4 separate regions of the Homo sapiens genome follow, and all the other regions are linked to region 2. The links are contacts of gene promoters, found by promoter capture Hi-C in blood cells and fetal thymus (Javierre and others, 2016). All regions are on one chromosome and are shown on one strand. The core of a region is centred on a gene start or on the middle of the fragment in contact, and the rest is flanking DNA. Distances in the headings are between cores, read along the strand shown.

Evidence for each region. Contacts are between HindIII fragments. The CHiCAGO score rates a contact against its expected background, and 5 or more counts as called.
Region 1: a fragment that was not itself captured here is called in contact with the fragment with the promoter of ERLIN2 in region 2 in 3 of 17 cell types (M0 macrophages, M1 macrophages and monocytes); the score reaches 7.8 in M0 macrophages.
Region 3: the fragment with the promoter of EIF4EBP1 here is called in contact with the fragment with the promoter of ERLIN2 in region 2 in 2 of 17 cell types (monocytes and activated CD4 T cells); the score reaches 6.5 in monocytes.
Region 4: a fragment that was not itself captured here is called in contact with the fragment with the promoter of ERLIN2 in region 2 in 1 of 17 cell types (monocytes); the score reaches 7.7 in monocytes.

Annotation. Positions count from the first base shown.
Region 1 is chr8:37,361,950-37,367,332 of GRCh38, forward strand. No RefSeq gene overlaps it. Among named protein-coding and RNA genes, the nearest start is that of LINC01605, 240 kb to the right of the region's middle. The HindIII fragment of the contact is 259 bases long and covers 2,234-2,492 here.
Region 2 is chr8:37,732,999-37,738,136 of GRCh38, forward strand. ERLIN2 (ER lipid raft associated 2) reads left to right here and starts at 3,636. Exons shown (of 12, transcript NM_007175.8): 1 at 3,636-3,680; 2 at 4,910-5,031. The coding sequence starts at 4,925. It overlaps LOC102723701 (a long non-coding RNA gene), which reads right to left and starts at 4,428. Exons shown (of 2, transcript NR_125821.1): 1 at 4,381-4,428; 2 at 1,763-3,800. LOC101929622 (a long non-coding RNA gene) reads left to right here. Exons shown (of 3, transcript NR_125820.1): 3 at 80-495. RefSeq lists enhancers at 3,509-3,718, 4,198-4,990. The HindIII fragment of the contact is 8,102 bases long and covers 737-5,138 here.
Region 3 is chr8:38,027,722-38,032,948 of GRCh38, forward strand. EIF4EBP1 (eukaryotic translation initiation factor 4E binding protein 1) reads left to right here and starts at 2,813. Exons shown (of 3, transcript NM_004095.4): 1 at 2,813-2,997. The coding sequence starts at 2,853. RefSeq lists a silencer at 2,594-3,033 and enhancers at 2,610-2,904, 3,534-3,633. The HindIII fragment of the contact is 5,036 bases long and covers 1,980-5,227 here.
Region 4 is chr8:37,396,285-37,401,822 of GRCh38, forward strand. No RefSeq gene overlaps it. Among named protein-coding and RNA genes, the nearest start is that of LINC01605, 200 kb to the right of the region's middle. The HindIII fragment of the contact is 4,349 bases long and covers 1-3,953 here.

The DNA of each region.
Region 1 (5,383 bases), core at 1,113-3,612, 370 kb before region 2:
AATGCTTATACATTGCTGGTGAGAATGTAAATCTGTCCAGCCACTGTGGAAAGAAGTCCAGAGATTTTTCAAAGAATGTAAAACAAAGCTATCATTTGACCCAGCAATTCCATTACTGGGTATATACTCAAAAGAAAATAGGTCATTCAACCAAAAAGACACATGCACTCATGTGTTTATTGCTGAGCTATTCACAATAGCAAAAACATGGAATCAACCCGGGTGCCTATCAATGGTAGATTGGATAAAGAAAATGTGATACATATACACCTGGAATACTATGCAGCCATAAAAAGAATGAAATCATGTCCTTTGTAGCAACATGGATGGAGCTGGAGGCCATAATCTTAAGCAAATTAACACAGGAACAGAAAACCAAATATCATACTTTTTCACTTGTAAGTGGGAGCTGAACACTGAGCATACATGGACATCAAGGTGGGAACAATAGACACTGGGGAATGCCAGAGGGTGGGAGGGTGAGTTTAAAAACTACCTCTCGGGTCCTGTGCTTACTACCTGGGTGACAGAATCTGTACTCTCAACCTCAGCATCACACAATATTCCCATGTAACACATCTGCATATATATCCTCTGTATTTAAAATAAGAATGGAAAAGAATGAGTTCATGTCCTTTGCAGGGACATGGATGAAGCTGGAAACCATCATCCTCAGCAAACTAACCTAGGAACAGGAAACCAAACACTGCATGTTCTCACTCATAAATGGGAGTTGAACAATGAGAACACATGGACACAGGGAGGGGAACAACACACAGTAGGGCCTGTCGAGGGGTGAGGGGAAAGGGGAGGGAAAGCATTAGGACAAATACCTAATGCATGCAGTGCTTAAAGTCCAGATGATGGGTTGATAGGTACAGCAAACCACCATAGCACATACATACCTATGTAACAAACTTGCAAGTTCAGTGCATATATCCTAGAACTTAAAGTAAAAAATCAAATAAAATAAATAAAATAAAGTTGAAATTTAAAAAAGAAAATATAAAGTTTGAAAAAACCCTCAGGTGTTTCTTATGCACCCTTTCAGGGAATACCCAGCCCAGCCCTCTCACTTTGCACCTGAGGAAATGCACACCCACTGGAGCAGGCAGAACTGGGTTTATCATCCACCCACACAACCAAGGCTAAGAGGAGAACAGAGCTTTCTCACTTGATATGGCCAGATTCTCCCCAAGGCCAGAGCTGGACAGGCAGCAGCACATCACTGATGGCAGAAATGCAGCCAGCATCCTCTCTGCTCCCCTTCCTGAGAAAAGTCACCAAGTGCACCTCTCCAGGGAGGCAGGGCCCATGTGAAGAATTGCTCTTTCTTTTCCTCTATTTCCCAGAGCAAATCTGCTCTCTGGAGTGTGCAGCACAAAAAGAAAGTCAAACTCCAAAGTGCATGCTATGGTGGTAGCCTCTCAAAGTTTCCTCCCAGTGGTGTATGGATGATGCCTGGGCATGACAGTGTGGCTTATTAAGAAGTGCTGTCATTCAAAGGCCTTCCACCTGCCAGTGATGAAAGAGAAGTGGCATTGGCTGCACATCTCATTCTATAGATGAGCAAATGGGAACAAACCCAAAAAGTGATTTGTCTTAGGTCACAGAGCACGTGGATAGCCGGAGCAAGAAGAAGATCTAAATATTTTCATGATTAAGCTGGGAAATTCAAAATATGACTAGATATTAGATAATATGAAGGAATTATTGTTAATTTTTTAAGGTCTGATAGCAGTATTGCAATTTTTTTCTTTTTTACTTTTAGCAATGTCTACTAAAGTGATAACAGATGAAATGGTATGATAACTATGGTTTACTCCAAAATAATCCAAGGTGAGAAGAATAGGGGGGCAATGGTTGGATGAAACAAGCTAGGACATGAGTGGATTCTGCTAAAGCTGGTGATAGGTATTTGGGGGTTCATTATGCTATCCCTTTTCTGTATATGCTTTAAATTTTCCATAGTAACAAAAATTAAAATTAAATACCTAAATGCCCTGGCCCCCAAAATCCACCACAGTGTTCATTCTCTCGTGCATTCTAAGCAATGCCAGGCTGGAACTAAAGATCAGCCTTCCTAGCTCCAGGGAGCGTGTTTCCAGTAATATGTAGGAGGATGTGAACTTTTTCCTTTCCCTTTGCTGGGGGAGAAAGTCTCAGCAAGGAGGGACTGGCCTCAGGATACAGCCAGTCCACATCATTGGAGAGAGAGGCTCCTGAGTCTGGAAGCTTCCTGGCACCAACACAGCCAGAAGCGGAGGTTCTGCCCAGGCAGTACTCAGATCCATGCTATTTACTTGATCAGGTCTCTTCATCTCTTGAAGCCCTGGTTTCTTCATTTGTGAACCTAAAGTGATAGCCCCAGTTTGCCTATGTCAAAAGATGCAAGGATCAAATTAAATAATGAAGGTGGATTCCTAGAGCGATAGTAGAGTATCTGTATCTAAATCCCATCTCCACTTCAGATTAGCTCTGTGGTTCAGACAAGCTTCTCCATCTCTCTTGCCTCAGGGTCCTCCACAACAAAAGTAGGGTTGTTGCAAGGATTCATTGAATTAATATATGCAAACAACTAAGAACAATACAAGACATTATGTAAGTGATTATTATTATTGCTCTATAATGGTATACTAACATAACATGTCAATATTATTAAAGGAACCATGGAGTGTTATATTAGAAAGGAACTTGGGAAGTTATTTATTCCACACTCCACTTTTCAGAGAATCAGAAAGGCGATGTGACTTATCTGGAATCTCGTAACAAGGCAGGGACAGAATGGATCCTGGAGCAACACCAAGGCCAGTGTTCATTCTGCAACCCCACTACATCCACTCCACGAAGCAGGTGGCCATTTCTTATTTCTTATTGCTCATAAGGAGGCCCACACAGAGTCACATCCTCAATCCAGATCTTGTGCTGGACAAGCAAGCCCAGGAGTCCCAAAGCCCAGTGCCTCACCGGTCTGTAATGGCAGAGGACATGTGGGTTGGAGGAGAATCCCCAGCTCCTTGTTCCACACCTGATCCCTGGAGAGCAGACCAGGGCAGCCATGAGCTTCAGCTGTGTCCCTTGCCTTCCATGGTCCATTCCTGAAGAGTGGGCAGCACTTCCCATGCCTCCCCTCGGACTTCGCCGCCACCACAAAAACATTTTCAAGGCGATGGTGCAAGCTGCCCTACTTACCATTAAGAGAAAGGACCACATTATTGCTGTTATAAACCATTGATTAAGGTTTATAATAGCAATAATCCCCTCGAAATTCATTGTTACTGCAGTTAATGGCCAGTTTATTAGAGCGTTAACCATCCTTGGCAATGGGCTGAGTCGTTTAATGTGGGTAACGACCAATTTCTCAAGGATTATTGCTTAAATAACAATTCTTTGGGAGACGTATGTGCCACCACAAGGTGCGGCTCTGGCTGGAAGCTTCTCCTCAGAAATAATTGTTAATTATTTCCTCAGGGTTGCACCACCAGCACTGTACCTAACAAATCCCAAACAATGAGCTTCTTATGGCAATGCTTCAGAGGCACCAAAGAATCAAACTGTTGGACCAGGGCCTAGAGCAGGAGCTGTGCCCTTCTGTGAAGGGATCAGAAACAGAGCAGCCACCATGATGGCTTCTGGCCTCCCAAGCAACAGCACCACCGGGAAACAGTATCTGGCTTTTCATGGAGACGACTCCTTCCTCTTCACGTGACTTCATTTCCAGAATTTTCTACCTGTCCAAGCCCTCCACCCATTCCCTTGACAGGTAGGGGAAAGTAGGGCCAGCCAAGAGGCTGGAGAAAGGACCAAAAAATGGGAAGCAGCCGGGCATCGTGGCTCATGCCTGTAACCCCAGCACTTTGAGAGGCCAAGACGGGTGGGTCACTAGAGGCCAGGAGTTCGAGACCACCCTGGCCAACATGGCGAAACCCCATCTCTACTGAAAATACAAAAATTGGCCGGGCCATGGTGGTGCACACCTGTAATTCCAGCTACTCAGGAGGCTGAGGCACAAAAATCACTTGAACCTAAGAGGTGGAGATTGCAGTGAGCCGTCATCGTGCCACTGCACTCCAGCCTGGGTGACAGAGTGAGACACCATCTCAAAAACAAACAAACAAACAATGAAAAGTGGGAAGCATGACCAACCGAGGCCTCATAATGGTTTAAGACACTCTGGAGCAGAGTCTACACCAGGACCTAGGAGACTTGGTCAGATGGGGCAGCAGGCACTGAATGGTACCCACTAATTTGCACAGTGCTGAAGTACTGGTAGTCTGTCTGCAGCCACTGGCTGCTTTGGGGTTTGTTTCAGGCAGAAAGAAAACAACCGGGGCCAGATTATATGCTTTAATCATTAAATACAATGATAAAGCCAGGGGTCTTTTTAATTATCCAGGTCTCTTTATTGTACAGGTGAAAACTAAGGGCCCAGAGAGATTAGGAGGCTTGGCTATGTCACACAGCCACTTAGAGAAGAGCTGGAAGTACATCTTGGTCTCCATTTTTCCTTTATCAACCTCAAGACAACCTTTTTGGACAGATCCAAATGAGGAAATTTTTCTCAAGAAATAGGATCACAGCCCAATAGGGAGAGAATGCAGAGACAAAGCACTCCCGAGCTCATGAGCACTTAAACAAGAGTCTCAGAAGAAGCCAATGATCTGATCCTCCCACTCCTCCTCCTCCCCAACTGTCTTTTTATGTATAACTCAATCCAGGTATTTCATCACATTAACTATTTTCTATCACTTTATATTAGCACTGGTATTTCAATAACTTTTATTTTTTTGACATGATCTGAGAGCTACTGATATGATTACACTCTAATTGCATTATATTAACTAAAATAAATACTAATAGGGTGTGAACCTAACATAATAAGATAGCAAATTGCTATCACAGTGCCAGGGCAGGCAAGAGAGAAAACTGCTGATTCACTCAACAAACACATATTAAGGTCCTGTTATGTGTGGAGCACTAAGGCAACTTCCTTTTTTCTCATCATCTCCAAAAACTAACTTGGTACAATAACAGAAAGTGAGGTGTCAAAGCCTCCTTGAATCTATGAATCCTTCAACCTCCATGTTTTGACTGAACAGCAAGAATCATTACCCATATATAACAGCAAGGGGGAGAATAAACGTCTCTCCCAGGAGCTCAGTGAAGTAAATGTCTAGTAACTCATCATTGCCCTCACCCTTCAGACACATAGATCCACCTTCATCCTGGAGGCCAGATAAACCCACAAGGGTCGCTGCAGCTCCCAAGTATCAGGCATGTAGAACCCGGTTGAGACAAAAGGTAGAAACTTCTCTCCCCTGCTCTCTCGCTGAGGCTCCCACCAAGGCTCTGACATCATGGTGGAGAAATTGGACACCATTTT
Region 2 (5,138 bases), core at 2,386-4,885:
TCACTCCTCTTCCCATAAGCTCACCAAAATCTTACTGGAATCAAATGTTCTAAAAGATTATTTCTATTCCCTGTTTTAGGGCCTAAAGTGAAAAAGATAAACTTTAAATCAAACGGAAACTTTTTCCAGCAACTTCCACTCTTGTGATACTGAACTGAACTGAAGCAGAAGATTTTAAGAGTTGCCTGAATCCTTTGGACCTGCTTATTGGCTTAAAAAGTCTAATTGTGAAATTGACTTAAAAATTCCTAATTGTGAAAGAAGGGGTCTCTTCTTTGGCATGGCACTCTCACTAACAATTTTCTTGGTAAGAGGACCCAACAAACAGCAATAGAAATAGAAAACTATGGATTGCTAGGTGAGAGTATTTTTTAACCTGCTTCAATCTACAACTGCAAAATGAACTGGCCCAATTTAATTAGAAAAATTTCAGTTTCTGACCACTGATCTACATTACTGAAAGGTTACATGTGAAATAAATGTGGGGTGTGTGTGTGTGTTTGTGTCTGAAATTGAATCATTTTCTAACTCATTCACTATAAAAAAGAAATAGACGGGATCATTTGAACTCTGCCTTTGCAATTTATCATCTTCGTGATCTTAGACAATCTCTTAATTTCTCTAAGCTTCCACTTTCTCCTCTAAAATGGAGTTGAACTCAAAGGGCTGACCTAAAGTTTACATAAAATGAGAAAATGTAAGGTACTGGGGCTGATACATAGACAGTATTCAATAAAGCTTTATGAAATCTGTATTGTAAATATCCATTGAGGTATAATTTCAGAAGCCTTTATCTCTTCTTCTGATAAGCCTTCATTTGGTTATTATTTAATACCATACAACTTAAAGTTTATCATTCTCTCGCCCTGTGTCACATTAATAATCTGCAATGATAACCCACAAACATGCAAGAATACATTAAGGGAATTTGCTATTTAAAACAGCAACAGCTAACACTTGGTGAACACTTAAAATGTACCAAATGTTGTATATGCTTTTCACAACAGTCCTATAAGTTTCATACCATTATTACTTTAATTTTATAGATGAAGAAACTGAGGCAGGGATAGATCATTTTTCCAATGTTACAGAATAAGAGGCAGGCTCCAGGATTTAAACAAGGCAGCCTGACTGTGAAGTATCTGAGCTAAATCACTACTCTATACTGTGAGGTTTTTTAAAAAATAAAATTTTAGCCGGGCGCAGTGGCTCACGCCTGTAATCCCAGCACTTTGGGAGCCCAAGGCACGTGGATCACTTGAGGTCAGGAGTTCAATACCAGCCTGACCAACGTGGTGAAACCCCATCTCTACTAAAAATACAAAAATTAGCCAGTCGTGGTGGCATGCGTCTGTAGCCCCAGCTACTCGGGAGGCTGAGGCAGGAGAATCGCTTGAAGGGAGGCAAAGGTTGCAGAGCTGAGATCGCGCCACTGCAGTCCAGCCTGGGTGACAGAGCGAGACAGGAAGGAAGGAAGGAAGGAAGGAAGGAAGGAAGGAAGGAAGGAAGGAAGGAAGGAGAAAAAGAAATTGTAAACATTTTTGTTAAACAAATCATCACAAATGTATCTGCTGGGTAACATAAAAATCACAGGTCTCTTAAGAAAGAGATTTTCAGAAGTACTAGATCATCATGTACTAGCACATCACGAAGTCCATCCCCCTGCCTTTAGGCACGTCCACAACTAAATAACTCAGGTCTGGTAAAATGACTCCTAAGAACAAAATCCCAAAACTTCTAGCCACAATTCACTCCAAAGTTTAATGTGAGGAAATTTTTGTGTTTTTATTATTTTTAATTGACACATAATAATATACATATTTGTGGGAAGGGGAGGGGAGACGGGTTGCCAGAGGTTGGTTAAAGGAAATTCTTAAATTACAAGTAATTTAAATACTTGATGCTGCAGGCTAGCCCCCATTTCATGGGTTGATGAACCCTAATATTTCCATTTTTCTTACTCAATTATTAAATAAACTATTAAATAAGCATGCCCAGCTGAGGTTATATCACTGAACAGGGAGAGAAAAAACTCAAGTTCTGATAGGATTGATCGAGAGATTGGCCAGCTGTGTCTGTTTGGGGTGGGGGATGCAGGGACAGAGTAGGGAGATGAAAGGCCTTCATTTATGGAGATGGGCACAGAGCTCCCAGACAGCACCATGTAACCCTCGTATGGGTTTCACCATGTAATGCTGAAACATCCCAACACCCAGAGCAAACGCAGGAAAGGTAAACGGGCCAATCCCAAGCAGGCATGCCTGGAAAAAACCACACTTCCCTTTTCCTGAGTCTTAAATCTGTCTAACACCACCAGCTTGCCATCTTCCCGGTGTAAAAGTTTTTCTTTTACTGAAGGCTATAATTAAGTGGACTCTTTCTCTCCTGCAAACAAAATATTAATAACCTCAGTGGCTGAATTAGAAATGCCCCAATGTGATGCTGGTGAATAGGGCAGGTGGAGGACAACGTGAGGCCCTTAGACTAGGAGACACAAACTCTGGATTCCGGGCCTGGTCCCACGTTGCCTTCAGTCTGTTTTTACTGGGCACCTAAGCCCCGGGGGTGCGGAAGGAAAGTCAGTCTCTGCTCTCCCGGGAACGTACAGTTTATCTAGAAAGACGAAGTGCACTAGCCCCTGTGCACTGTGGCAGGAGTTTAAAAAGCAGTGAACTCAAGATATTAAGGAAACACAAAGGAAACTTTCCTTGGCTTTTACCCTTGAACCTCGCTGAACTTCTTAGATTCCGTTCATTAAAATTAGAATAATAATTCCTTGTTAATATACTTTGTGGCGTTGCAGGATCCCAAGGGCCAAAGCTCCCAGAAAAATATAAAGAACAACTCAAGGTAGGGATTTTTGATTGGTGAGGTAATGATGCTAATCTGTACATTGAAAAGACTGTTTCATTTCAGCTGTGCTATAGGAAAGCAAACAGTTGCAACTCGCCAGTACCTTATCAAGGAGAGAAAAAAAAAAAGGCCGCGCATGGTGGCTCATGCCTGTAATCCCAGCAGTTTGGGAGGCCGAGGCAGGAGGATTGCTTGAAGCCAGAGTTTGAGACCAGAAATACCAAGACCCTGTCTTTACTAAAAATAAAATTGTCAAGTGTCGTGGCGTGCGCCTGTGGTCCCAGCTACTCAGCAGGGTGAGGTGGGAGGATCGCTTAAGCCCAGGAGTTCGAGGCTGTAGTGAGCTATGATCGTGCCACTGCACTCCAGCCTGGGCAAAAGAGCGAGACCTTGTCTCTAAAAAAACCAAAACGAACCAGGTTCGGCCTAATGCAGAAGGAAATCCGGAGCAATCCCCAAAGTCAACGCCTTGGAAAGGTTCGCCCTGGGTCTCAGTACTCCGGGGCATGCGCGTCCTGCCGCTCGCTCTCGGGGAGCTCCCACCAACACCGCCCTCATCCCCAGCCCCAGGACGGATACCCAAGACCGAGGTCCAGGACCGCACCGACCAAGTCGCGGGCGATCCCTGGCGGCCAGCTACGGCCATTGACCGCTGGGAGCGCGAGGGGCGGGGCGCAGAGCGAGCGCGGGGCGGGGGTGTGGTCTTCTCGCGTGAATTGATGGCGTCATCGAAGCGACGGCCCGGAAGGAAGTCGCGTGCTGAGGGGTGTGACGGTTTTCTTGCTCGTGGGCTCGGACGAGTACGGAGCGCCTGCAGGGACAGCCTGGTACGCGGCCCCCGCCCCTTCGTGCGCGCGCTGGGCCTAGCTGCCGCTCAGGGTCGGGGCTGACCCGTCACTTTCGGGAACCTCAGTCCCAGCAGCTTCTCTCCCTCAGCCGGCCCGCTCCTGGAGAGAGACAGAAACCCTTTTCTGTCGCGTCCTCTCCTTGCGAGCCGCAGGGGGACCGAGCGGAGGCTATTGGAGCCGCAGCCCCAGACCAGGGCGCTTGACCCTCTCTCGGAACGGGGCGGGGAAGGGGCGCGAGTGACCTCGGGGAGGGAAGGGCACTGGCAGGAAAGGACGCAACTGCAGATCGGTAGCCGGAGGCCGCCACGGTAAAATAAGCGCCTCGCAGATGTCCGCGCCCCGGTTACGTTAGACCTGGGAGGCAGAATCCACGCCCTGCGCTCACGGGCCCACGCACGCACAGCTGAACTTTGCAGTCAGTCACCATAGTTCCAGATCATTCAGCGTTCAGGATCCCACTCCTCCGCGTCCTGGTGCCTGAACGCGGTTGGACCTAGGAGCCTAGAGGCTCGCAGTTTGGGACATTGCCTTTCTCTCTGACCACGGGCTTGGGGATCTGTCAGGTGCAAAGTGCCAAAGTATATGGGGGGGAGTGTGGCTTCAGGCTTGTTCAGAGCCCTGTCCTGTTTAGGGCCAAAGGAATAACTGGGAAGGTGGATGCGAGGCCAACGAATCCTACCTTGAAACTCTGCTCGCCTGCTGGCTCTGCCACTCCAGCATCTGAAAGGAGTAAATAATGGTTTCCTTTGAAACTGCAGGCAATTAGGAGTGGGAGACTCTGACCAGAATTACATAGCCACAACTGCCTGTCATTTGGCATCCTCTGTAATTTGGGCCAAAGTACTGCAGCTGCCTCTCTTCCCTACTACTGGTAGGAAAGGTTCAGTGACAGCACATTCGTGTTCACAGGAAGACAAGGCTGTGTTCTGAACCCTACCCAGCTGGCACGGGTTCTCCCTTGAGCAACGGCTGTATCCGGAGCCAGTGCTTCCTCAGTGCGGTGGGGGCTCTAATTTTACAGTTAAAGAAAGGGGAACGTTGACTGAGAACGAGGAGGAAGCGAGTTGTAGATCTAGCCTTGTGTTCACACGACACCAGGCTGGATATGAGTCACTCGCAGGGAGCTCAGCTTGGTGAGGTCCTCTCGCTGTTGTGGCCTTTTCTCCTGCACGTTGGACCACACACATTTTCCCGTGTCTTTTCCCTAGGATAAAGGCTCACTGATGGCTCAGTTGGGAGCAGTTGTGGCTGTGGCTTCCAGTTTCTTTTGTGCATCTCTCTTCTCAGCTGTGCACAAGATAGAAGAGGGACATATTGGGGTATATTACAGGTAAGGCAGAGACAGGGAGAAGCCGGCAACTTCCTGTTAAATAGCTCCCTTTCCTGGTCATTGCTTTCCTAGCAGATTCTGCTGAACATCTCTATTTATATTTCCTT
Region 3 (5,227 bases), core at 1,563-4,062, 290 kb after region 2:
GCCTCCCGAGTAGCTGGGACTACAGGCGTCTGCCATCATGCCCGGGTAATTTTTTTTTTTCGTATTTTTAGTAGAGATGGGGTTTCACCGTGTTAGCCAGGATGGTCTCAATCTCCTGACCTCGTGATCTGCCCCCCTCGGCCTACCAAAGTGTTGGGATTACAGGCGTGAGCCACCACACCCGGCCTGAAACTCTCTCTTTTTTGAAACAAGGTCTTACTATGTTGCCCAGGCTGGTCTCTGAACTCCCGGCCTCAAGCAATCCTCTGGCCTTGTAATCCCAGCTAGGGCTGGGATTACAAGTGCACATCGCTGCAACCAGCAAGGCCTGGTCTATTTTTATCTTATATTATTTATTTATTTTTTGAGCCCTGGCTGGAGTGCAGTGGTGCAATCTTGGCTCATGGCAACCTCCACCTCTGGGGCTCAGGTCATCTTCCTACCTCATCCTTGAAAGTAGCTGGGACCACAGGTGTGAGCCACAACACTGGGCTAATTTTTAAATTTTTTTGTAGAGACAGAGTTTCACCATGTTGCCCAGGCTTGTCTCAAACTCCTGAGCCCAAGCAGTCTGCTCACCTCGGTCTCCAAATGTGCTGGTATTACAGGTGTGATCCACAGCACCTGGATGAAATTAATTTTTTTTTTTTTTTTTTTTTGAGACGGAGTCTCACTCTGTCACCCAGGCTGGAGTGCAGTGGCAGATCTCTACTCACTACAACCTCTGCCTCCCAGGTTCAAGCAATTCTCCACCTCAGCCTCCCGAGTAGCTGGGATTACAGGCACCCGCCACTGTGCCCGGTCTGTTGTTTTTGTTTGTTTGTTTGTTTGTTTTGTTTTTTTGTATTTTTAGTAGAGACAGGGTTTCACCATCTTGGCCAGGCTGGTCTTGAACTCCTGACCTCATGATCCACCCGCCTAGGCCTCCCAAAGTGGTGGGATTACAGGCGTGAGCCACTGCACCCAGCCGAAATTTATTTTTTTTTCTTTTGAGACAGAGTCTTGCTCTGACGCCAGGCTGGAGTGCAGTGGCATGATTTCAGCTCACTGCAACCTCTGCCTCCCAGGTTCAAGCAATTCTCCTGCCTCAGCCTCCCGAGTAGCTGGGACTACAGGCATGCGCCACCATGCCCAGCTAATTTTTTTTATATTTTTAGTAGAGACAGGGTTTCACCATGTTGTCCAGGATGGTCTCGATCTCTTGACCTCATGATCCGCCTGCCTCGGCCTCCCAACGTGTTGGGATTACAGGCGTGAGCCACTGCGCCTGGCCCAAAATTAATTTTTATAATGTATTTTTCTTAACCCAGTATACTCAAAATATTATCAGTTCAACATACAATCAATATAGAAACAAATTATTCAGGTATTTTACATGATTTTCTTCACACTAAGTCTTTGAAATATGGTGTGTATGTTAAACTTGTGACAGTTTGGACTGGTCACATTTGGAGTGCTCAATGTGCACCTGTAGCTGGTGGCTACTGTCTTAGCCACTGTAGGCCTAAAGTTTCCCTCAAAAGTGAGACCAAACTCAACAGGTCTCCCTATCTCAGGCCTTGCCCTCCTTGGCCCATTCTGAAACTCCACTGGCTACTAGTTATCCTTCCAAAAAACAACTCAAATCATGTCATCCCCCTGCTTAAAAGATCTCTGATATCTCCTGCCCTTCTAAGACAAAGTCCAAGCACTTTGGCATAATTTGAAAAACTCAACGACCTGACCCCAATTTCCTTTTTAAAAAATTATTATATATTTTTTTAGAGATAGGGTCTCTGTCACAAAGGGTGGAGTGCAGTGGTGTGATCACAGCTCACTGGAGCCTCAAACCCCTGGGCTCAAGCATCCTCCAGCCTCAGCTTCCTGAGTAGCTGGGATTACAGGTGCACCACCCAATTTCCCTTTTAAACTGCCCTCCCCTCTTCACCCTCTTCCCCACAATATGTGCCCATAATGCTAAGAACTTCTCAAACCCAACAAGCTTTTCCATCCTCGGTCCTTCTTGCATTTTTCTCTCTCCCCTTGAACATCCATCCATCCATCCATCCATCCATCCATCCATCCATCCATCCAAGGAGTACCTACTAAACCTCAGGTGGACGTTGGACTCAATTCAGGGGCTATCGGGAAACCTCTTCGACACTCTTACTCCTCTCCAACGCCCTTCCCCACCACCCACCTCTGCGCCCCCAGCTCTAAATTTAGCTCCCAGGACGCCGCTGGTTGGTTCACTCCTCCTCCCACACCCTCTCTAAAGGCCGGGAACGGAATTGTTAGCCCCTCCACCCCCACCCCCATCAAGGTCAAGAAATTGAAGCGGGGCGGGGGGCGGTGAGCATAACTACTCAATCCCCATTTTCTCATCTGAGGAACTAAGGCACGAAACAGGGAGTGCCGAAGGGTACACCAGGCCTGATGTCCTAATGCAGAAACCGGGCCTTCCTGCAGTGGGCCGGGTCAGCTCGGATCTCCGCGCGGTCCTGAGTCGCCGCCCCCAACCCAGCCAAGGATTAATTTAGGCGAGCTATCCCGCCCGCCATCCCCATATCCGTCCCTGCCAGCGTGGCGGGGAGGGACCCCGGACGGAGGGGCAGTCGCTGCGGGGCGGCGCCAGCGCCCGTGCGGAAGAGCCCGTGAGCAGACGGGAGTGGGTCGGGGGGCGGCGGGGGATCCCACGTGGAAGCAGCGTCCTGGAGCTGGGTGGGGCTGCGGCGCGGACTACAAATCCCAGGGGCGTGGGGCGGGAGAGGCGGAAGGGGCGTCCTGGGGCGGGGCGGCACGGGGCGAGGCGGAGCGAGGCTGGAGGCGCGGGAGGGCAGCGAGAGGTTCGCGGGTGCAGCGCACAGGAGACCATGTCCGGGGGCAGCAGCTGCAGCCAGACCCCAAGCCGGGCCATCCCCGCCACTCGCCGGGTGGTGCTCGGCGACGGCGTGCAGCTCCCGCCCGGGGACTACAGCACGACCCCCGGCGGCACGCTCTTCAGCACCACCCCGGGAGGTAGGCGCGGGCTTGGCGACGCCGCTTGCCGGCTCCTGGGCGGGCGGGAGGATCGGGAATCGCGGATTGGACCGGGTGTCCAGGCTCAAGGGCGCCGTGATTGGAAAGAACGGAAAAGGGGCATCGGAGAGACAGCGAGGGTCATGGAAGTGGCCGCCCGCTTCCCCTCTGAGTGCGTCTTCCAGACCCGAGTTACAAACTGCCCCGTTTGTTTCCTCTTTCTGTTAGGTGTCAGACAGCTGACACCTAACAAACACGCACGCCTCCAGGACAGCCACATGCCGAGCTGTGCTGCCCCTTGTGGGTGTTGGGGGCGCTCCCGAAGCGGGAGAGGGCGGAGTTAGGGTGGCCCACGATCCAGGAGAGGCCTGGCCTGGTGTTTTTATGGGATGGGTATTATCTGTTGGGATAAACGATTCCTGCAGGGCCCTTTTTCCTTCCCGAAGCACGCCGAGTTTTGTGTTGGACTCGCGCGCTCTGACTGAGGTTCGGATCTGGGGGTGCTTGCCTGCTCCAGCAGCGCCTCCCGGGCACCTGTGGCACGTTCCCCATTTACGCGAGTGGGATCTCCGCGGGGGGGACCCTGGCGCCACGGCCAGGGCTGTGCAGAAAAACACGTTCTTCTGTCCGGGGAGAGGAGGAGGCACCGTGTGACCTCCCTGGGAGAGGATGAGGAAGAGGAAGCTGAGCTGGCACGGGTGGGGGGGCCAGCCTCGGGCTGCCCTCAGGAACCTGGCATTCCCTCCCAGCCCCGGAGCCCCAGCGCACAGACGCTGATGAAACCTACGCGCCTGTTTGCATGATGAAATAAATCCTCGTGGCTCTCTCCTCCCCTCTCATTGTCGCACTGCCCCCACCCCTTTTTGCTCCTCTCCCTTCATTCTCCTCCACGCTGCTTTCCATACTACTAGAAAACGCGACAGATCCTGGCGCTTGGCTAGGTGGCGGGCGGGGGCCACATGCTTATTTTCTCAGGCAGCTGTCCCACCAGCAGCGAGCGCGGCCAGATCCGAGGTCCTCTGCTGTTTGATCCAAAACATACACTGTTAGAACGGTTAGGGATCTTGTCCAGCCCTGCCGTCTTATTCTACAGAGCCCGGCATTGAGGCCCCAGAGCTTGAACACGTGTCTGTTGCCCATTGTCACACCGTTTTCCCAGATTGGACAAGAAATAGCAACCAGGCAGAGAAGGGAGAAATGCTTCCTTTTCTATTAGAAATGAGCCAAGGAAAAGCTCGCAGGGGCTCTTGTTGCCATTCCCGACTCATCCTCTTTCCCTTGCTGGGTCTTTTGTAGTCCATGCTGTTCTCCTTTGTCTCTGTCACAATGGTCTACCAGGACAATTCCTGACAATTTTGGAGTTCTTTCAAATGAGGGTGTAAGTGTCTGCTGGATTTGTTCAGGGTGGGCCCTGAGGCCGGCCTGAAGGCGCAGGTAGCCCTTTTTTGCACTCTTTATTGCTGGATTGTTGGGTCAAATTGGAAGCCAGGATACTGTTTATAGGCACTTCTGGCCCGGGTACCAAGGTTCACACCTGTAATGCCAGCATTTTGGGGAGCCAAGGCAGGAGAATTGCTTGAGGCCAGGAGTTCAAGACCAGCCTGGGCAACATAGTGAGACTCCATCTCTACAAAGAAACAAACAAAACAACAACAAAATGTTGTCCTAGCTACTACAGAGGCTGAGGCCAGAGGATCGCTTGAGCCCAGGAGTTGGAGGCTGTAGTGAGCTATGATTGACCACTGCACTCCAGCCTGGGTGACAGAGCGAGACCCTATCTCTAAAATAAATAATAAATATAAAATATAGGAACTTCAAATCCACTTTTCACTTTGGGTTGGGAAGTGGGGAGTGGGCAGGGGGCTGACAGACCACAGCAAATCCCCTTCCCTTTGAAGGTCTTTAGCAGTAGGGGGAGTGGGGAAGGGACTTCTGCATCAGGGCATAGCATATGTTTCTGAGATCACTGGAAGAAGCTAGCAGTGCCAGGAGCCTAAAGCCAGCTCACTGTTTGGTCGTCCAGTGGAGCAGGTACAGCTCACAGTCCCTAAGCCAGGGAAACCTGGCTGACTTCCACTAAAGTCAAGCAAGCCTGGTCGGCCTCGATTAGCCAAGGTGTGGACTCTTCCTCCAAAGCCCACCTCAGCCCACCTCTGCCAGGGCAGAGAAGCCAAAATGGTCACATTGCAGCCAAAATGGTCACACCCTTTTGCTCCAGAGCAGAATACTG
Region 4 (5,538 bases), core at 529-3,028, 340 kb before region 2:
AGTTGGTCAATATGTTATTAACCAACATGGTGGCAATATTAAATGACAGTGAAATCCTGGCATCCTCTCAGGGTTCAGTGTGCTTTGCAAGCATCCTTTCTTTCTTTATCCTCAGCTGGATGTGGGAGGTGATATGGTCTCCACTTCTTAGGAAAGGTGTACAAAGGCTTTTCCAAAATTCATCCTCACCCTCAAAGATATAATCATCATAGTGATTACAATTTGTGGGATCCCCTACTATGTGCTAGAAAATTACACATTATATATGACATCTTCACCACAACCCTGCAAGTTTGGTTGAATAGATATTCCCACTTCACAGATGAGAAACAGAGTCACAACATGGTTAAATAAATTTGATGCACTCACACAGCCAGAAAGTGGCTCAGCTGAAATTGCAACCCAAGGTTCTGTTCCCAGAACCTGCGTTTATTTGACAATGCCACCTCTCAAGAAATACAAGACCATGCTTCAGACTGAAGAGTGAATCACTAACAGCTCACTGTCCAATCCCCTTCTAGGTGAGGTGGGGGTTGAAGAATGCTGGGGATGGCACACCACCCAGGGCTCCTGGGACTTTTGTACTAGTCTTAGCCAAACTGCCCTGGGTTGTCAAAAAATACTGCCCTCGATGGGCCACTGTCCCTTGATGGGAGCACAGCTCTCTGGGATCCAACAAAGGGCTGATGGAGTCCAGGCATGCACAGAGCTGTTCTGGCCTTGAGCCTGAGAGCCACCACTGCCCTTGCTCAGTAGCCAGTTTGGAGAGAAAAAAGGAAATATGCAAGTTAAGACACTCTGGCCTTTGTCTCCATTAGATTCTGCCTTAACAGACAGGCTTTGGGAATCTGTAAGCCAATGGTGGGCAGAAGTTGCTGGAGGACTGAGAAAAGATAGTCAAAGGGGCTCATAAAGGCAGAAGATCCTTTAAAGAAATTATACATGATAAAACCAACATTAAATTAAGGACTATTTAAAAGAAAAAGGCAGTAGCTGTATCAGTCAGGTTCTCCAGAAAAACAGAACCAACAGAAGGTAAGTGTGTGTGTGTGTGTGTGTGTGTGTGTGTAATATATACATATACATATGAAATAAAGATGTTTATTTTAAGGAACTGGCTCACACAAGTCCAAAATCCAAAGACAGCCCAGGAGGCTGCAGCAGGAGCTGATGCTGTAGTCTTTGAAAAAAAATTTTAGATTCAGGGAGTACATGTGCAGGTTTGTTACAAGAGCATACTGCCTGATGCTGAAGTTTGGGCTTCTATTGGTCCCATCACTCAGATAGTGAACAGAGTACCCAATAGGGAGTTTTTCAACCCTTGTCCCCCTCCCTTCTTCCCCCTTTTGGAGTCCTATCTTTATGTCCATGTGTACTCAATGTTTAGCTCTCACTTATAGGTGAGAATATGTGATATTTTGTTTTCTGTTTCTGCATTAATTCACTTAGGAAAACGGCCTTCATCTGCATCCACGTCGATGCAAAAGACATGGTTTCATTCTTTTTTATGGCTGTGTAGTATTTTATGGTGTACATGTACCACATTTTCTTTATCCAATCCACCATTGGTAGGCACCTGGGTTCATTCTATGTCTTTGCTATTGTGACTAGTGCTGATGCTACAGCCTTCAGGGAGAATTTCTTATTCAGGAAACCTCAGTGTCTTCCCTTAAGGCCTTCCAGCTGATTGGATGAGGCCCACCCGCATTACCCAGGGACCTCTCCTTTACATAAGATCAACTGATGGAAGATGTCAACCACATCTACAAAATACCTGCACAGCAATATCTAGATTAATGTTTAACTAAATCATTGGGACTATAACCTGGCCAAGTTGAAATAAAACTGAATATCATATTAGGATTACCCTAACACAATTATTTTCACTCTTTTGTGTTCTCTACTAATAATTACGTATTTTACATAGTTATAAAAACTATATTACAAGAATTTACTACTTTTATTATACATATAATACATGTTCATTATAGAAAATTTGTATACATAAAAATTTGCCATTCTAATTTCTTAGGTAAGTTGTAAACCCTTTTTCATGTTTATAAGGCTATCTCCTCCATGGGATTACAGGAACCATAAGAACAGAGGCCAAGGTCCCATCTGTGTTTTTATGCCTGTCATTAATTATGGTGCCTGGCATATGTTAGGTGCTCAATATATATTGTTTAAAAGAATGGGTTTTCTTTTTTTAAATATATTTTCCACCTTTTATTTCCATCGGTATCATCCATTTAAAAAGAATAACAGGAAGATTCCCATCAGTCTAAACTGGACCACCCATGCTTTATGAAAAAGTTGGAGCATTTCAGCCGGCCCCACATGACCCACCCTGCCTTCAGTTAGAGGAGCTTCTAGTGCCTTCTGGAAGGGAGGAAAAGTCTCGGATCCACCTGGCACTCAATCCACTCAGCACTTGGCTGCTGCTGCCGTCCTGGGGCCGGAGGGAACTCCCACTGAATGCACTTCTACAGAGGAGTGTGTGGTGCAGTGAGGATGGTTACTGCTGGAGCCAACACACAGTGAACTACATACTTTTAGAAAGAGCCTCTGTCACATAGATAGAACCAAAAGAAAACCCAGAAAAAACCTTGAGAAAATATATTTAAATCTCTGATAGGTCTCTTAGCTAGCAGTGAGTTCAGTATGACAGCATAGAGTCTAAAAATATTAATTAAAAATAAGTTGCTTTGGTTAGCATTTAATCCTTCCCCAAGAATGGGTTTTCTTATGTAACACCAACACTAATTATTTGTGATAAATACATAAGAGTCTAAGTAATATACTAAAATTATCCTAGTTCATCACCTATTATTAAACATTCAGGTTCTTTTCAGGTGTGGTTTTGGGGGTTTTTTTCTGTGAAAAGTTTTACTGCTAGAGACTTCTTTTTCAAATAGAATTTTCTCTTATTTGAATAATTCAAAAAAACTTATTTACACGTTTTCCCTTGGGGCATGTTGGCCTTAAATGATCACACTGATTAGTCAAACTACTAATTAATTTAGAAGAGAGTATAAGTCAAAATGATTGTTTGGCAGATCCATTAAGACTTGAACAATAGCCTCATAATAATAGCTAGTAATATGTAGCTCTTTACAAAACTGCCCCAAGCCAAAACTGAGCTTTGTTAAGCATGGTCCCATAACTTCCCTCTATAATAATGGGGCTGGAAGTCTGAAAACTACATTTCCCAGATCTCTTTGGCAGTTGGCTTCCAGTTAAGTTTTGTCTAACTGGCAGGAAAATCAAGACAAGAGAGGAAGGGAGATGTCTTTGTTTCTCTCTCTCTCTCTCTCTCTCTTTCTCTCTCTGTCTCTCTCTCTTCTCCTGCTTCTCTCCTTTCTTCTTCTGATAGTGTTTCTTCCACCATCTCAGCTTTTTACTTCTTTTGAGACAGGGTCTTGGTCTGTCACTCAGGCTGGAGTGCAGTGGTGTGATCATGGCTCACTGAAGCCTCAACCTCCCCAGGCTCTAGTGATCTTCCCATCTCAGCCTCCCAAGTAGCTGGCACTACAGGCACACATCACCACCATCACGCTTTTGAGGCTGTAATCCACTTTCTGTGCTCTTAGGTTCTGGAAACCCCATCACCATTCTTTTGTTCCTCCAGCCCTAGATAATATCTGATTTACCTTAATTTCCCCTTTTTTGCTCTTTGACTGTCTAAGATCGTTGTAGCCTATTGCCTGTATTAAATATCCTCTGTATGAAATACATAGGTTGGTTTCTTTTTCTGACTAGACTGTGATTGATACAATAAAAACAAAATTTTTTAATGAGGAATTGCTCATCTTACTTGGTTTTTGCCCACTTTGGTCTCCAAAATCTAGACTTTTGAAGTCAATCAGGGTACACTCATCCAAAATATCCCTGTATCACTGTATTGATTGTGTTTTTGTATTTTTTACATTTTGTGATGTTTTGACATCTTAAAAAGCTTTCTGACCAAGGGGAGACTGTTCCTTCCTGGCCAGTCCCTTCTTAGTCTCAGTAAAAGACTCAGCAAGGAGTATGTTTCTTATGTACAAACAAACCAATCCCACATCTCTAGCCTCAACCACCTCCTTCTATAACTCTCACATATCAAGCCAATATTTCCTCTGTCCTAAATCATCCCAGTGCCAGGTACCAGGCAACTAGAGACCACTGCTATAGCTCAAAGCCCACCAGAATTATTCAAACTAGTCAGCCCTAATCTGTCCACTCTGCCCTGCCTTGCGTTTCCCGCAGAAACCCCAGCTCTATCTCAGGCTCTCCCCGCACTCTTGTCTTCTGCCACCTGACCCAAACCTGGTGCTTCTCCTGTGGCCCAGTATGGCATGTGGCGAATTCCTCTCTGGGATCTGTGAGTATAATCAACTTTTTCTTTTCAAGCTTTATTCTCATTCCCTCTTGCGGTCATGCCAACTTTACCACACCATAGCCCACATGAACATTCTTAGAATAATAACAGTGTTTCCTAAGCTCTATTCCTCATATTATTTGTGTCCAGAAGGATTTTAATAGGTGCTCATTAAAAAAAAAGGTTTCATAGTTAGGCCAGGCACAGTGGCTCACGCCTGTAATCCCAACACCTTGGGAGGCCAAGGAGGGTGGATCACTTGAGGTCAGGAGTTCAAGACCAGCCTGGCCAACATGGTGAAACCCCGTCTCTACTAAAAATACAAAAATTAGCTGGTCATGGTGGCAGGTGGCTATAATCCCAGCTACTTTGGAGGCTGAGGCAGGAGAGTCACTTGAACCCAGGAGGCAGATGTTGCAGTGAGCCAAGACCGCACCACTGCACTCCAGCATGGGCGAAAATAGTTAAATGAATTTGGGGCATGCTGGGTTAAAGTTCAACAAGCTTCTTCACTGAAGGACTTCTCAGAGCCTTTAATATACAAATGTGCATTTTGAATCTCCAAGAGTGTTTCCCAATTTTTTTAACCAACTAGTCTTTTATCACACAAAGTACAGTTATATATCTAGAGATGATAGCCTTTCAAGGAACACTATTTGGGAAGTGCTAGTCTACAGTAATATTTCAAAAATTATTTTAGTGTCTGTATGAAGAAGATATTAAGAGGTTAAGAATGGCTAAAGTCATATTTTGTATAAAAATCAAAGAGTACCAAAATATTGATATGCATCTGACTATACAGATTACAGAATTATTATATGTCTTCAGCTGCTCTTCTTTAGGGATGTGGCAATAACCTTTATTCCACCAGCTAAGGGAATGGTTATGGTCCAGGAAAAATGTTCTTCTGCTTTTATTCCTTGCTGTCAGGCTAGAATGTCAAGCCTCTTATTACAAGAACACTGTTACTAAATCTCAGCCTTTGCTTATTCCCTGTGAATATGGCAGTCTTTAAGTAGAAAATAGTTATCATTCTACTTCGTTTTCTTTCTTTTCTCAGGAGATTAAAAAGGGATTAGCTGTAAGAATATAAGCGGAACCTTAAAAGGAAGTTCATGGAAACCCACAAAGTAGAACACTAGCTCAGCAAGGCCTCATAAGAACTGGAATAGAGAACT